Regions from separate parts of the Homo sapiens genome. Here region 2 is linked to region 1. The links are contacts of gene promoters, found by promoter capture Hi-C in blood cells and fetal thymus (Javierre and others, 2016). All regions are on one chromosome and are shown on one strand. The core of a region is centred on a gene start or on the middle of the fragment in contact, and the rest is flanking DNA. Distances in the headings are between cores, read along the strand shown.

Region 1 (7,452 bases), core at 1,356-3,855:
CCCCACAGTCCTGCAGCTCCATGTGTGTGCCCGCACAGTGCTAGGAACACGGCAGCTATTATCAGGAGTGCCAGGTACAGTGCTACAGGTTGCCTCCTGTACAAGGGGACACAGGGAACTGAAATCCAGTCCTCACTGAACTGCCCAAGCCCTGATTCCTGGTATGGGACTTTGTGGGTCCAGGGGCAGGGGTGCCTTGATCAAAATCACCTTGGATGTTTTAGGGCTGCTTGGTGATTGATGTTTTGCTTTCGGAGTACTTAATTATGTTTGCACAAACGGATGGTAATCCTAAAAATCTTAGAGCTCGCTCTCATAGTCTTATTATTGCACCAAACATTGTTAAGTGCATGATAATCGCAGGTAATTTTAATTGGAGGCTTACTATGTGCCAGGCAGCACCAGGGTGAGCATAGCAGGACACAAAATATAGGAAGGCAACCATCTCTGGTGCAGAATCGGCAGCAGAGAGTGAGCGCCTCCCTGCATTTTATCCCCCAGGTGCTCACTGGCTTCACCCTTGCCCTGACCCTGGTGCCAGGCACTTCACACACATTGTCTCCTTTTCCCTTGCAGAGTCCCATTATTCCCTGATTGCACAGATAAAGAAACCAAGGCTGAGCAATGCCATCCCCTCATCTCACGAACGTCACCTCCATGAGGGTAGGCACCTTACTAGTCCTACTTGCCCAAGAGTAGCAGTCAGAAAGCTACGGGGAGGCACACCTGGGGTTTGAACCTGGGTCCACGTGACTCAGGCACTCAAATCCTGAACTGCTTCAGGGCAGGGCACTTGGCTTGAAGAGAAGCTGCAGACACAGAGACAATCAAGTCACATCTAATACTCCAGCAGGACAGATGAGCCTGCAAGGTGCAAAGGTACCCCCGCCCCCAACCCAAAGCCTTTTTCAATTCCTCTCCCTCCACATCTCTTGTCATGGTAAAGCAGGCAGAATCCATGGGCTTTAACGGGCCCATTGCTTTTCCCAAAGCTCATGCCTTTTTCCTAAAAACAAAACCCTTCTGGGTTCCAGAACTCTTTGGAAAAAAAGAATCTTCTGTGATTTGGGACATTGGTTTGTTCCCCCACCCTCACTTAAATGAGAAACTACTTTAGCATGCCCCGCCCCGTCTGTTGTCTTTATTTAGGAGGAAGCACCCTCTACATACCCTGAGTATATACACCCAGGGCCTGAAGCTGCTGTGATCAGCTCAGGATCCCCAGGAGGCTGAGGCGGATCAGGCCCTGGACTCCGGGGGAACAATGTAAGGGACACCAAAAAGCTCAGCCATGGAGATGAATAGTATTTTAACATGAAATTTGTGAAAATCAAAATTACCGCTGTTCCTGATCTTATCTTTCTGTAACATGTTCATAGTTTGTTCATCACGGGTGTCTTGCCATTAATTCTGACTTTTAAAAATGTTGTGTTAACATACCGTTTATCTCCATGACTGAGTTTTTTGGCATCCCTTACATTTCGTGCCCAAGGTGAGAGTCTCACTGGCTGCACCCTCATCCCAGGCCCGACTGGACTCCAGTTCCACAGCATCCTTTCCATGAGACCTGGAACCAGATGCAGCTCCCTCTTCACCCAGCTTCATGTTCCTAGTTGTAAAATGGAGACGATGGTAACAGCGAAAACAAGAACCACAGCTAAGAGTTACTAAGTGCACAGGTATTTACGGGCAGTAGAGTCCTCTCAGCCCTTTGATCTCAGTACTGTTATTAGGTTCACTTTACAGATGAGGAAACTGAGGCCCAGAGGGCTGAGGGAACCTGCTCCAGGGCACCCAGCCAGCCCAGGGTGGAGCTGGGGCTGGCATCTGGCGGTGTGGCTGCAGCGCACCCGCATTCTAATCGCAATGACTCTTCCAGGCAGGAAACTGGTTCAGAGGGAGATGTAAACAGCAGGGGTCCTGAAGCCAGGATTTGAATCAGCAGCTGCCTCATAGGGTGGTCTTGAGCGTTAAATAAGATTCACAAAAGGCACTCCACAAGTCCTTTTTCTTGTCCTCCCACTTCTTTAGGCAATGCCTGAGGTGAAGGCTCAGATTCCACTCGGCTATGGGGCATTCTTGCCCTGACGGATCCCCAAATCACACAGCCTATCCCTCCATCCAGTGACTTCTCCCCATGTCCTGTGCTTGAAATGACCCTCAATAGTTCCACCAAATAGGAGTTATTTATGTGGCTATGCGCCTAACACTGACCACATTGTCATTTGCTCCTTGTAAAACTAAAAACTTTGAGATGAGTGCTATCTTTGGGTCCATTTCACAGATAGTGGAACTGAGGCTTACACATATCCAAGGCCACACAGTGAACAGAAGGCAGAGCTGGGATCAAACTTGACCCTGTCTGACCCCTGGCCTCTATATGACACCGTCTACCACAAACAGCAAACCCTCCAGCCATGCCTAAAGGATCTGAAAGCAGTTACCTGCTGAGCCCCTGTGGGAGTATCTTCAGTCCCCTCGTGTCACCCGGAGCTGCTCCTGCACAGGGTCCTGGGTCTCCAGTGCGTGCTGCCCAGTGCCTGGCTGTCGGTGGAGCCTGGCTCCCTGCACTTTGCTTCCTTGTGCAGAGCCTGCTGGCTGAATACACAGAGCAGGGCAAACACAAGCCTGGGTGGAGTCCTCCCTTCTCCCCGGACCATCCTGCAGAAACAGGTTCTCTTCCTGATGTGGGGCTGCCCTCCCAACTCCAATAAAAACTGAGCACCTGACTCCTCTCGCATTAATGCCTCCCTGGCACCCCAAGTATTCTACCCAGTGCCCCTCACCTACTGAGGCTGCCGGGTTGACCTGGGGAAGCAGTTTCCTTCCCCAGTAACCGTAGGTCATGGTCAGAGCAGGGAAAACACGTTCTGTGAGATTTTGTAGTTCTGTCTGCTGACTTCAGAACACCACCTCCACCACCACCTAACCACCTAATTGGAAGGAAATAGCTTCTCATCCACTCAACTACCCCTAGTCATGTAAACCTTATTCCCAAAGGGGTTTGGACACCAGAAATCAGGTAACCTGAGGGTGGTTTATTGCTCTGGAGACATACCATGATGTTGGAAAGGGCATTCTTTTTCTTTGCAGGCCAGAAATTCGACAGGCTATGCAATTTATTTAATTCAAGCAAGGATGTTGTTTAAAGTGTCTTACAAGGACATATACAATAGATTATGAGAGCATGAAATAACATGTAACAAAAGAAGATTGAAGAACAAAATTTGGAACATCAAATGAGAACAGGATCAAAAATAAATGCTCTTGTTGATTTACAGACTTGCTATGAAGGGTTTGCAGATATGGCTTTGAGCTTCCTAACAGCCAATGCAAGAAAGGAAACTTGATAAGTTACACTACTTAGTGCTCTGGAGAAGACATTCAAGAGAATTGCGACCAATAATTATTGTGGTTTTATTCAACAGTATACTCAGCTTAACCCCTATCATGAATACTTGTCAAGCACCAGGCTATATATATAAGCCAGAGTTTAAAGAGGTGAGTAAAAGATGCTGGGTCTCTACCCTTCTTGCACTCAGTGTCATTGGACATAGAATCCTGTAAATATAAACATAGAATTACAGGGTGTGATTCTCATTATAAAAGAAAAGCCAAGGCAGCTAAGGGAGAGAAATAGAGAGAGCTGGGGAAGGCCTCTTTCAGAAATCAACATTTAAGAAAAAAAATACTATTTAAATAAATGCTGAATACACAACCAGGCACACCGTAATTAGGGTTGTAAAGTCGATTCCAGCTCAGCACTGTACATGTCAATCTGGAATGTAGTAAACCCAATTATTAAGCAGCTGCCATGCACACGCTCTGTGCTGACCCAAGCCTGGAGGCTCAGGAGCTTGAGCTCTGGCCCTGGGTTGAGACAGACAAGGGCTCGGATCTTGATTCTTACTGATCGGCTGTGGAATTATGAGCAAGCTACTGTACTTCCCTAAGTCTCTGTCAGCCCCCTCAGCTGTGTGCTCCTTTGTGTTTATTTTGCATCTATTCTTGTATCCCCAACTCCTGGCACCCTGCAAAACGAGGATGGGGATCCCTCTATGATAGAGTAGGTACTCTGCAACTCCTGGCTGATTGGACTTGTTCATTCTTTTTTTTTTTTTTTTTAAGACGGAGTCTTGCTTTGTCATCCAGACTGGAGTGCAGTGGTGTTATCTCGGCTCACTGCAACCTCTGCCTCCCAGGTTCAAGCAATTCTGTTGCCTCAGCCTCCTAAGTAGCTGGGACTACAGGTGTGCACCACCATGCCTGGCTAATTTTTGTATTTTTAGTAGAGGTGGGGTTTCTCCATGTTGGCCAGGCTGGTCTGGAACTCCTGACCTCAAGTGATCCACCCGCCTCAGTCTCCCAAAGTGCTGGGATTATAGGCGTGAGCTAACACTCCCCATTGTCTTGCTCTCTTTTAAATTATACATGGCAGTAACTGCCATTTGGATGGCATTAGTCTTTGCAAAGCCTTTTGTGTTTATCCGTCCATTTCATTTATGTCCACAGTGAAATTAAGATCTTTTGCTCCCATTTTACAGAAGAAAAACATAAGGTTTAGGGATATGAGTGATTTAGGAGATTAAGAAAAATCATTCAGGTGGGGGCACTCAGCAGTGTGTCTGGCAAAACGTAGACCATCACCAAGCATCAGCTGGTGTAGTCAAGGGTGTTGATGAAGGATCTGGCAAACTGTAGACCATCACCAAGGATCAGCTGGTGTAGTCAGGAGTGGTGATGAAGGGTCTGGCAAACTGTAGACCATCACCAAAGATCAGCTGGTGTAGTCAGGAGTGGTGATGAAGGATCTGGCAAACTGTAGATCATCACCAAGGATCAGCTGGTGTAGTCAGGAGTGGTGATGAAGGGTCTGGCAAACTGTAGACCATCATCAAGCATCAGCTGGTGTAGTCAGGAGTGGTGATGAAGGATCTGGCAAACTGTAGATCATCACCAAGGATCAGCTGGTGTAGTCAGGAGTGGTGATGAAGGGTCTGGCAAACTGTAGACCATCACCAAGCATCAGCTGGTGTAGTCAGGAGTGGTGATGAAGGATCTGGCAAACTGTAGATCATTACCAAGGATCAGCTGGTGTAGTCAGGAGTGGTGATGAAGGGTCTGGCAAACTGTAGACCATCACCAAGCATCAGCTGGTGTAGTCAGGAGTGGTGATGAAGGGTCTGGCAAACTGTAGACCATCACCAAGCATCAGCTGGTGTAGTCAGGAGTGGTGATGAAGGGTCTGGCAAACTGTAGACCATCACCAAGCATCAGCTGGTGTAGTCAGGAGTGGTGATGAGGCAGGACCGGCTACATAATCTGCTGAACCCAGTGCAAAACAAAAACGATGAGCCCTTTGTTCTAAAAGCAGGGAAAAGTACCGTTAAAGGTATGAAACATAAAGCTGTTTTCTCTCCTTCCTGGTCTCTTTCTCTACCTGTCATGTATTTTACTTATTATTTGAAGTCATTCTAAGGGAAGAAAAAATAAAAATGTAAGTGATCAGCGTGAGTTTTGCCATCCGTCTTTAGATCAAGCCATGCTGGTTTGAAATGCAATGAACTCGAGGGCAGAATCACCAAAATCATACGACTTGTATTTTGTAGTTAGTTACGGGGCCCCCGTAGTCTGTTCTCACTAAAACAGTGTAAACGCTGCATAGAAGTCATCATTCAACTGTTTTTACTCTACCTCTGGATACTCACCCATTCTACTAATGCTCTCTATCTTCAGTTTATTGATGAATAAGGAAAAATCAAAAGAAAAAGAAACTCTAAGCTGCCCTATATTTCTGTCTTGCTATGTTATCATTTTCAGCACAAGTGGTTGGCCCTTACAGGGAGGTAACCTGGGTAAGAAAGGCTAGGATAGGATTCTTTTGTTGTTTGTGTTTCTTAGAATGTGCTGCCTTTTTTCTGTATTGAAGATAATTTCTGATTTGCGTGGAAAGCCTGGACTCTTGGGGTGTCAGTGCCTCCACATACTCAATTGCAGCTGTAACTCACATGTGTTTTACTTGCTTTGAGGCTTACTGAATAGTCATGAACTCACTGGCATTCTCTGCTCATGGGCATCATGGATGTTATATGTGAATAGGTGGCAATGAACAGTAGACTTGCATATTGCTTGTATCTCATGACTATGCTTCATTGTCTCATCAGATTTTACTTACTCAACCCAAGTTCAAAGATAACACTACAACTGACCCTTGAACCACAAGGGTTTGAACTGCATGAGTCCACTTAGACATGGATTTTTTCCCTTCTTCTGCCACCCCTGAGACAACAGGACCAACCCCTCTTCTTCCTCCTCTTCCTCAGCCTATGCAATGTGAAGATGACAAGGAAGAAAACCTTTATGATGATCCATGTCTACTTAATGAATAGTAAATATATTTTCTCTTCCTTATGATGTTTCTTAGAATGCGTTGTCTTTTTAATGTTCTTAATACCATTTTCTTTTCTCTAGCTTACTTTATTGTAAGAATGCAATATACAAATGTAATACATATAACATAGAAAACGTGTTAATACATAAAACATAGAAAACATGTTTATGTTATTAGTAAGGATTCTGGTCAACAGTAGCTTATGAGTAGTTAAGTTTCTGCAAAGTCAGAAGTTATACTTGTATTTTCAACTGCACAGGATTGATGCCCCTAATCCCCGTGATGTTCAAGGGTCAGCTGTGTTAAGATTTTCAATATGGCAACTGTAGAGCAATAAACCAAGCTCAGGGCCCTGGGTGGAGGTAGCAACAAGTCTTCAAAAGTGCAAACTTCTTGGTGGAAGAATTTACTTCCCGGTGTCGACAAAGCAGGGAGTTCACTAAGAGTAAAGTTTCTCCTTGCTACACAGACTTCAGGTGGTGCTCACCATCATGCTCCCAACTTGGTTTGCCTCTTAATCTTCTCTCTTTACGATCTCCACCCCTCTTCAAATATTGACAAGCACATGTGGCTGTCATCTCCTGTTATCAAACTGCTTTCCTGAAAATCTGGATAGAGCTGGTTTTTGAATCAAAAAGAGTCATTGGAAAACTGAAATTGGAAATCTCCCCAGGACCCTCTTTCAGACCTGCCCCTGCCTCTCTGCAAATATTCCGTCCTCCACCCAGGCTTCTCGCTCATGCTAAGCCATGTTGGCTGTGTTTTTGATCACTGAACCAGCGGAAGGCATGACCCAGCCATTATAGTGTGGTCATGCACCCAGGGCCTGTCAGTGACAGCTGGTCTCCTGCCAGTCAGGATGCCCACCCTGCTCCAGCTGAGACAGGAAATCTGACATGCACCTTTGTCTTTCTGTATGCCACCCATCACTTGGCATTTTTCAGATCACTTTCTTGTGCTTTATCTGATATGCTCCTTACTATAATCCTATGACATAAGAAGTATCTATTTGCCTGAGGAGGAAACAGTTTCAATGAAGACCAATGTCTTATGCTAAATTA
Region 2 (7,452 bases), core at 2,620-5,119, 560 kb before region 1:
GCACCACGAGATTATATCCGGCACCTGGCTCGGAGGGTCCTACGCCCACGGAGTCTCGCTGATTGCTAGCACAGCAGTCTGAGATCAAACTGCAAGGCGGCAGTGAGGCTGGCGGAGGGGCGCCCGCCATTGCCCAGGCTTGCTTAGGTAAACAAAGCAGCCGGGAAGCTCCAACTGGGCCCAGCCCACCACAGCTCAAGGAGTCCTGCCTGCCTCTGTAGGCTCCACCTCTGGGGGCAGGGCACAGACAAACAAAAAGACAGCAGTAACCTCTGCAGACTTAAATGTCCCTGTCTGACAGCTTTGAAGAGAGCAGTGGTTCTCCCAGCACGCAGCTGGAGATCTGAGAACGGGCAGACTGCCTCCTCAAGTGGGTCCCTGACCCCTGACCCCCGAGCAGCCTAACTGGGAGGCACCCCCCAGCAGGGGCACACTGACACCTCACACGGCAGGGTATTCCAACAGACCTGCAGCTGAGGGTCCTGTCTGTTAGAAGGAAAACTAACAAACAGAATGGACATCCACACCAAAAACCCATCTGTACATCACCATCATCAAAGACCAAAAGTAGATAAAACCACAAAGATGGGGAAAAAACAGAACAGAAAAACTGGAAACTCTAAAACGCAGAGCGCCTCTCCTCCTCCAAAGGAACGCAGTTCCTCACCAGCAACGGAACAAAGCTGGATGGAGAATGACTTTGATCAGCTGAGAGAAGAAGGCTTCAGACGATCAAATTACTCTGAGCTACGGGAGGACATTCAAACCAAAGGCAAAGAAGTTGAAAACTTTGAAAAAAATTTAGAAGAATGTATAACTAGAATAACCAATACAGAGAAGTGCTTAAAGGAGCTGATGGAGCTGAAAACCAAGGCTCGAGAACTACATGAAGAATGCAGAAGCCTCAGGAGCCGATGCAATCAACTGGAAGAAAGGGTATCAGCGATGGAAGATGAAATAAATGAAATGAAGCGAGAAGGGAAGTTTAGAGAAAAAAGAATAAAAAGAAATGAGCAAAGCCTCCAAGAAATATGGGACTATGTGAAAAGACCAAATCTACGTCTGATTGGTATACCTGAAAGTGATGGGGAGAATGGAACCAAGTTGGAAAACACTCTGCAGGATATTATCCAGGAGAACTTCCCCAATCTAGCAAGGCAGGCCAACGTTCAGATTCAGGAAATACAGAGAATGCCACAAAGATACTCCTCGAGAAGAGCAACTCCAAGACACATAATTGTCAGATTCACCAGAGTTGAAATGAAGGAAAAAATGTTAAGGGCAGCCAGAGAGAAAGGTTGGGTTACCCTCAAAGGGAAACCCATCAGACTAACAGCGGATCTCTCAGCAGAAACCCTACAAGCCAGAAGAGAGTGGGGGCCAATATTCAACATTCTTAAAGAAAAGAATTTTCAACCCAGAATTTCATATCCAGCCAAACTAAGCTTCATAAGTGAAGGAGAAATAAAATACTTTACAGACAAGCAAATGCTGAGAGATTTTGTCACCACCAGGCCTGCCCTAAAAGAGCTCCTGAAGGAAGCGCTAAACATGGAAAGGAACAACCGGTACCAGCCGCTGCAAAATCATGCCAAAATATACAGACCATCGAGACTAGGAAGAAACTGCATCAACTAACGAGCAAAATCACCAGCTAACATCATAATTACAGGATCAAATTCACACACAACAATATTAACCTTAAATGTAAATGGACTAAATGCTCCAATTAAAAGACACAGACTGGCAAATTGGATAAAGAGTCAAGACCCATCAGTGTGCTGTATTCAGGAAACCCATCTCACGTGCAGAGACACACATAGGCTCAAAATAAAGGGATGGAGGAAGATCTACCAAGCAAATGGAAAACAAAAAAAGGCAGGGGTTGCAATCCTAGTCTCAGATAAAACAGACTTTAAACCAACAAAGATCAAAAGAGACAAAGAAGGCCATTACATAATGGTAAAGGGATCAATTCAACAAGAAGAGCTAACTATCCTAAATATATATGCACCCAATACAGGAGCACCCAGATTCATAAAGCAAGTCCTGAGTGACCTACAAAGAGACTTAGACTCCCACACATTAATAATGGGAGACTTTAACACCCCACTGTCAACATTAGACAGATCAACGAGACAGAAAGTCAACAAGGATACCCAGGAATTGAACTCAGCTCTGCACCAAGCGGACCTAATAGACATCTACAGAACCCTCCACCCCAAATCAACAGAATATACATTTTTTTCAGCACCACACCACACCTATTCCAAAATTGACCACATACTTGGAAGTAAAGCTCTCCTCAGCAAATGTAAAAGAACAGAGATTATAACAAACTATCTCTCAGACCACAGTGCAATCAAACTAGAACTCAGGATTAAGAATCTCTCTCAAAACCGCTCAACTACATGGAAACTGAACAACCTGCTCCTGAATGACTACTGGATACATAACGAAATGAAGGCAGAAATAAAGATGTTCTTTGAAACCAATGAGAACAAAGACACAACATACCAGAATCTCTGGGACTCATTCAAAGCAGTGTGTAGAGGGAAATTTATAGCACTAAATGCCCACAAGAGAAAGCAGGAAAGATCCAAAATTGACACCCTAACATCACAATTAAAAGAACTAGAAAAGCAAGAGCAAACACATTCAAAAGCTAGCAGAAGGCAAGAAATAACTAAAATCAGAGCAGAACTGAAGGAAATAGAGACACAAAAAACCCTTCAAAAAATTAATGAATCCAGGAGCTGGTTTTTTGAAAGGATCAACAAAATTGATAGACCGCTAACAAGACTAATAAAGAAAAAAAGAGAGAAGAATCAAATAGACGCAATAAAAAATGATAAAGGGGATATCACCACCGATCCCACAGAAATACAAACTACCATCAGAGAATACTACAAACACCTCTATGCAAATAAACTAGAAAATCTAGAAGAACTGGATAAATTCCTCGACACATACACTCTCCCAAGACTAAACCAGGAAGAAGTTGAATTTCTGAATAGACCAATAACAGGAGCTGAAATTGTGGCAATAATCAATAGTTTACCAACCAAAAAGAGTCCAGGACCAGATGGATTCACAGCCAAATTCTACCAGAGGTACAAGGAGGAACTGGTACCATTCCTTCTGAAACTATTCCAATCAATAGAAAAAGAGGGAATCCTCCCTAACTCATTTTATGAGGCCAGAATCATTCTGATACCAAAGACAGGCAGAGACACAACCAAAAAAGAGAATTTTAGACCAATATCCTTGATGAACATTGATGCAAAAATCCTCAATAAAATTCTGGCAAAACAAATCCAGCAGCACATCAAAAAGTTTATCCACCATGATCAAGTGGGCTTCATCCCTGGGATGCAAGTCTGGTTCAATATATGCAAATCAATAAATGTAATCCAGCATATAAACAGAGCCAAAGACAAAAACCACATGATTATCTCAATAGATGCAGAAAAAGCCTTTGACAAAATTCAACAACCCTTCATGCTAAAAACTCTCAATAAATTAGGTATTGATGGGACGTATTTCAAAATAATAAGAGCTATCTATGACAAACCCACAGCCAATATCATACTGAATGGGCAAAAACTGGAAGCATTCCCTTTGAAAACTGGCACAAGACAGGGATGCCCTCTCTCACCACTCCTATTCAACATAGTGTTGGAAGTTCTGGCCAGGGCAATTAGGCAGGAGAAGGAAATAAAGGGTATTCAATTAGGAAAAGAGGAAGTCAAACTGTCCCTGTTTGCAGATGACATGATTGTATATCTGGAAAACCCCACTGTCTCAGCCCAAAATCTCCTTAAGCTGATAAGCAACTTCAGCAAAGTCTCAGGATACAAAATCAATGTTCAAAAATCACAAGCGTTCTTATACACCAACAACAGACAAACAGAGAGCCAAATCATGAGTGAACTCCCATTCACAATTGCTTCAAAGAGAATAAAATACCTAGGAATCCAACTTACAAGGGATGTTAAAGACCTCTTCAAGGAGAACTACAAACCGCTGCTCAAGGAAATAAAAGAGGATACAAACAAATGGAAGAACATTCCATGCTCATGGGTAGGAGGAATCAATATCGTGAAAATGGCCATACTGCCCAAGGTAATTTACAGATTCAATGTCATCCCCATCAAGCTACCAATGCCTTTCTTCACAGAATTGGAAAAAACTACTTTAAAGTTCATATGGAACCAAAAAAGAGCCCGCATCGCCAAGGCAATCCTAAGCCAAAAGAACAAAGCTGGAGGCATCACACTACCTGACTTCAAACTATACTACAAGGCTACAGTAACCAAAACAGCATGGTACTGGTACCAAAACAGAGATATAGATCAATGGAACAGAACAGAGCCCTCAGAAATAATGCCGCATATCTACAACTATCTGATCTTTGACAAACCTGAGAAAAACAAGCAATGGGGAAAGGATTCCCTGTTTAATAAATGGTGCTGGGAAAACTGGCTAGCCATATGTAGAAAGCTGAAACTGGATCCCTTCCTTACACCTTATACAAAAATCAATTCAAGATGGATTAAAGACTTAAACGTTAGACCTAAAACCATAAAAACCCTAGAAGAAAACCTAGGCATTACCATTCAGGACATAGGCATGAGCAAGGACTTCATGTCCAAAACACCAAAAGCAATGGCAACAAAAGACAAAATTGACAAATGGGATCTAATCAAACTAAAGAGCTTCTGCACAGCAAAAGAAACTACCATCAGAGTGAACAGGCAACCTACAAAATGGGAGAAAATTTTCGCAACCTACTCATCTGACAAAGGGCTCATATCCAGAATCTACAATGAACTCAAATTTACAAGAAAAAAACAAACAACCCCATCAAAAAGTGGGTGAAGGACATGAACAGACACTTCTCAAAAGAAGACATTTATGCAGCCAAAAAACACATGAAAAAATGCTCATCATCACTGGCCATCAGAGAAATGCAAATCAAAACCACAATGAGATACCATCTCACACCAGTTAGAATGGCAATCATTAAAAAGTCAGGAAACAACAGGTGCTGGAGAGGATGTGGAGAAATAGGAACACTTTTACACTGTTGGTGGGACTGTAAACTAGTTCAACCATTGTGGAAGTCAGTGTGGCGATTCCTCAGGGATCTAGAACTAGAAATACCATTTGACCCAGCCATCCCATTACTGGGTATATACCCAAAGGACTATAAATCATGCTGCTATAAAGACACATGCACACGTATGTTGATTACGGCATTATTCACAATAGCAAAGACTTGGAACCAACCCAAATGTCCAACAATGATAGACTGGATTAAGAAAATGTGGCACATATACACCATAGAATACTATGCAGCCATAAAAAATGATGAGTTCATGTCCTTTGTAGGGACATGGATGAAATTGGAAATCATCATTCTCAGTAAACTATCACAAGAACAAAAAACCAAACACCGCATATTCTCACTCATAGGTGGGAATTGAACAATGAGATCACATGGACACAGGAAGGGGAATATCACACTCTGGGGACTGTGGTGGGGTGGGGGGAGCGGGGAGGGATAGCATTGGGAGATATACCTAATGCTAGATGACGAGTTAGTGGGTGCAGCGCACCAGCATGGCACATGTATACATATGTAACTAACCTGCACGACGTGCACATGTACCCTAAAACTTAAAGTATAATAAAAAAAAAAACAGATACATAAATGAGTCTTAGCTAATACCTTCATATGTGCTGTGTAGTGACGCTTGCCTAGTAAGACATCATGCTGAGAAATGGACTGATTCTCACAGCAGCCCGCAGGGTACTAGTCACCCCCCATTTCACAGATGAGAAGATTCGCATTGCTCAGTATCACACACCACTTGACATGTAGACCTGAAATTCAGACTTAACGTTTGTGGTGTGGGAAAGTCCACACTCTTGTGAGCCCCTAGCATGAGTCTTGGGAAATGGTGGGCCCTTTAAAAATGATAGTTTCTTCACTATGTGCAAACTTTAGGGACCTAAGGCCCATGCTATTACCAAGAGGTGTTGCAGGACTTCTAAGAAGACCCGGTGAGGCCTGGAGGCTGCAGGATGAATAATGGAGGACAGGCACTTCCCGGAGAAAGTGAACATGACAAGCAAAGACCTTTGAAATATGAGCTGGTGTCTCACTTCCCCCTCTAGGTCTTCCAGCCCCTCCTTGGTCTGCTTCCCAGGCTCCAGAACTAAGCTCCTCCTGTCTCGAGGGAAACCGAACGGCTTTGGGAAAACACACGATGTTCTCAGAAGTAAGGGCAAGCTTCCTGCGCCCCCAGCCTGTCCTGCCTGCGCTCATCCTGGATTGATTACTTTTATCGTCCCCCTGTGGCCCCAGATATGCTCCAAAGGACTCAGCAGGCCTGAGACTCTGTCTGGTCTGGCTCCTGCCATTCCAGCACATTCTACACTCCAGCCAAACTGGAGTCCTCTGGATCCCAGCACCTGCCACCGTACCTTTGCATGTGCTGGGACCCTGGTCTTCCCACTGTCCCTCACCCTTCAGCTTCCCCTAAGGACTGCCTCTGACTCTCGGCTTAGAAAAAGTCCCCTGCCCTCCAGTCCCACCCTGGACCTCCCTCTTGCAAAGGTCCTGGCAGTTGCAGTCACATGAGCTGTTGCAAAGATCCTGGCAGTTGCAGTCACATGAGCTGTTGCAAAGGTCCTGGCAGTTGCGGTCATGTGAGCTGTCTGCTTGTCTCCCACATGCACTAGGGGCAGGGCTCCAGCAGCCTTCCCCCTCATGCCCCAGCCTGCGTCCCCAGCACCACACCCTGTGGCTAAGACACAGTGGGAGCGCAAAGAAGTCACGTTGGCGTGGTGCACATGACAAAGGCCGGGTGATAGTCTCGCTCCAAGCAGCCTCAGGTATGCTCCTGTGATGGTTAAGTGTCAGCTTGATTGGACTGAAGGATGCAAAGTATTGTTTCTGAGTGTACCTTGGTGTGTCTGGGTGTTGCCAGAAGACATTATCATTTGAGTCAGTGGACTGGGAGAGGAAGACCCACCCCCAGGAAGATGCACCTACAGTGTAGGTGGGCACCATCCAATCAGCTGCCAGTGCAGCTAGAAAAAGCAGGCAGAAGAAGGTGGGATAAGCTGGCTGGCTGAGTCTTCCAGCCTTCATCCTTCTCCTGTGCTGGATTCTTCCTGCCCTTAAACACCAGACTCCAGGTTCTTCAGCCTTTGGACTCTTGGACTTACACCAGTGGTTTGCCAGGGAATCTCAGGCCTTCGGCCACAGACTGAAGGCTGCACTGTCGGCTTCCCTACTTTTGAGGTTTTGGGGCTTGGACTGAGCCACTACTGGCTTCCTTGTCCTCAACTTGCAGACGGCCTATTGTGGGACTTTTACCTTATGATCATGTGAGTCAGTTCTCCTTAATAAACTCCCTTCCATATATACATATATCCAGC

What was found. The method cuts DNA at HindIII sites, captures the fragments that hold promoters and counts their contacts. A CHiCAGO score of 5 or more calls a contact.
Region 2: a contact is called between a fragment that was not itself captured here and the fragment with the promoter of BCAS1 in region 1, in 1 of 17 cell types (neutrophils). The highest score is 5.3, in neutrophils.

The regions. Positions count from the first base shown.
Region 1 is chr20:54,067,989-54,075,440 of GRCh38, forward strand. BCAS1 (brain enriched myelin associated protein 1) reads right to left here and starts at 2,606. Exons shown (of 13, transcript NM_001366298.2): 1 at 2,445-2,606. It overlaps MIR4756 (microRNA 4756), which reads right to left and starts at 497; the gene lies at 420-497. RefSeq lists an enhancer at 1,325-2,199. The HindIII fragment of the contact is 13,812 bases long and covers 1-7,452 here.
Region 2 is chr20:53,504,170-53,511,621 of GRCh38, forward strand. It overlaps TSHZ2-AS1 (TSHZ2 antisense RNA 1), which reads right to left and starts at 149. Exons shown (of 6, transcript NR_187667.1): 1 at 1-149. RefSeq lists enhancers at 1-551, 6,225-6,726, 6,727-7,226. The HindIII fragment of the contact is 4,853 bases long and covers 1,444-6,296 here.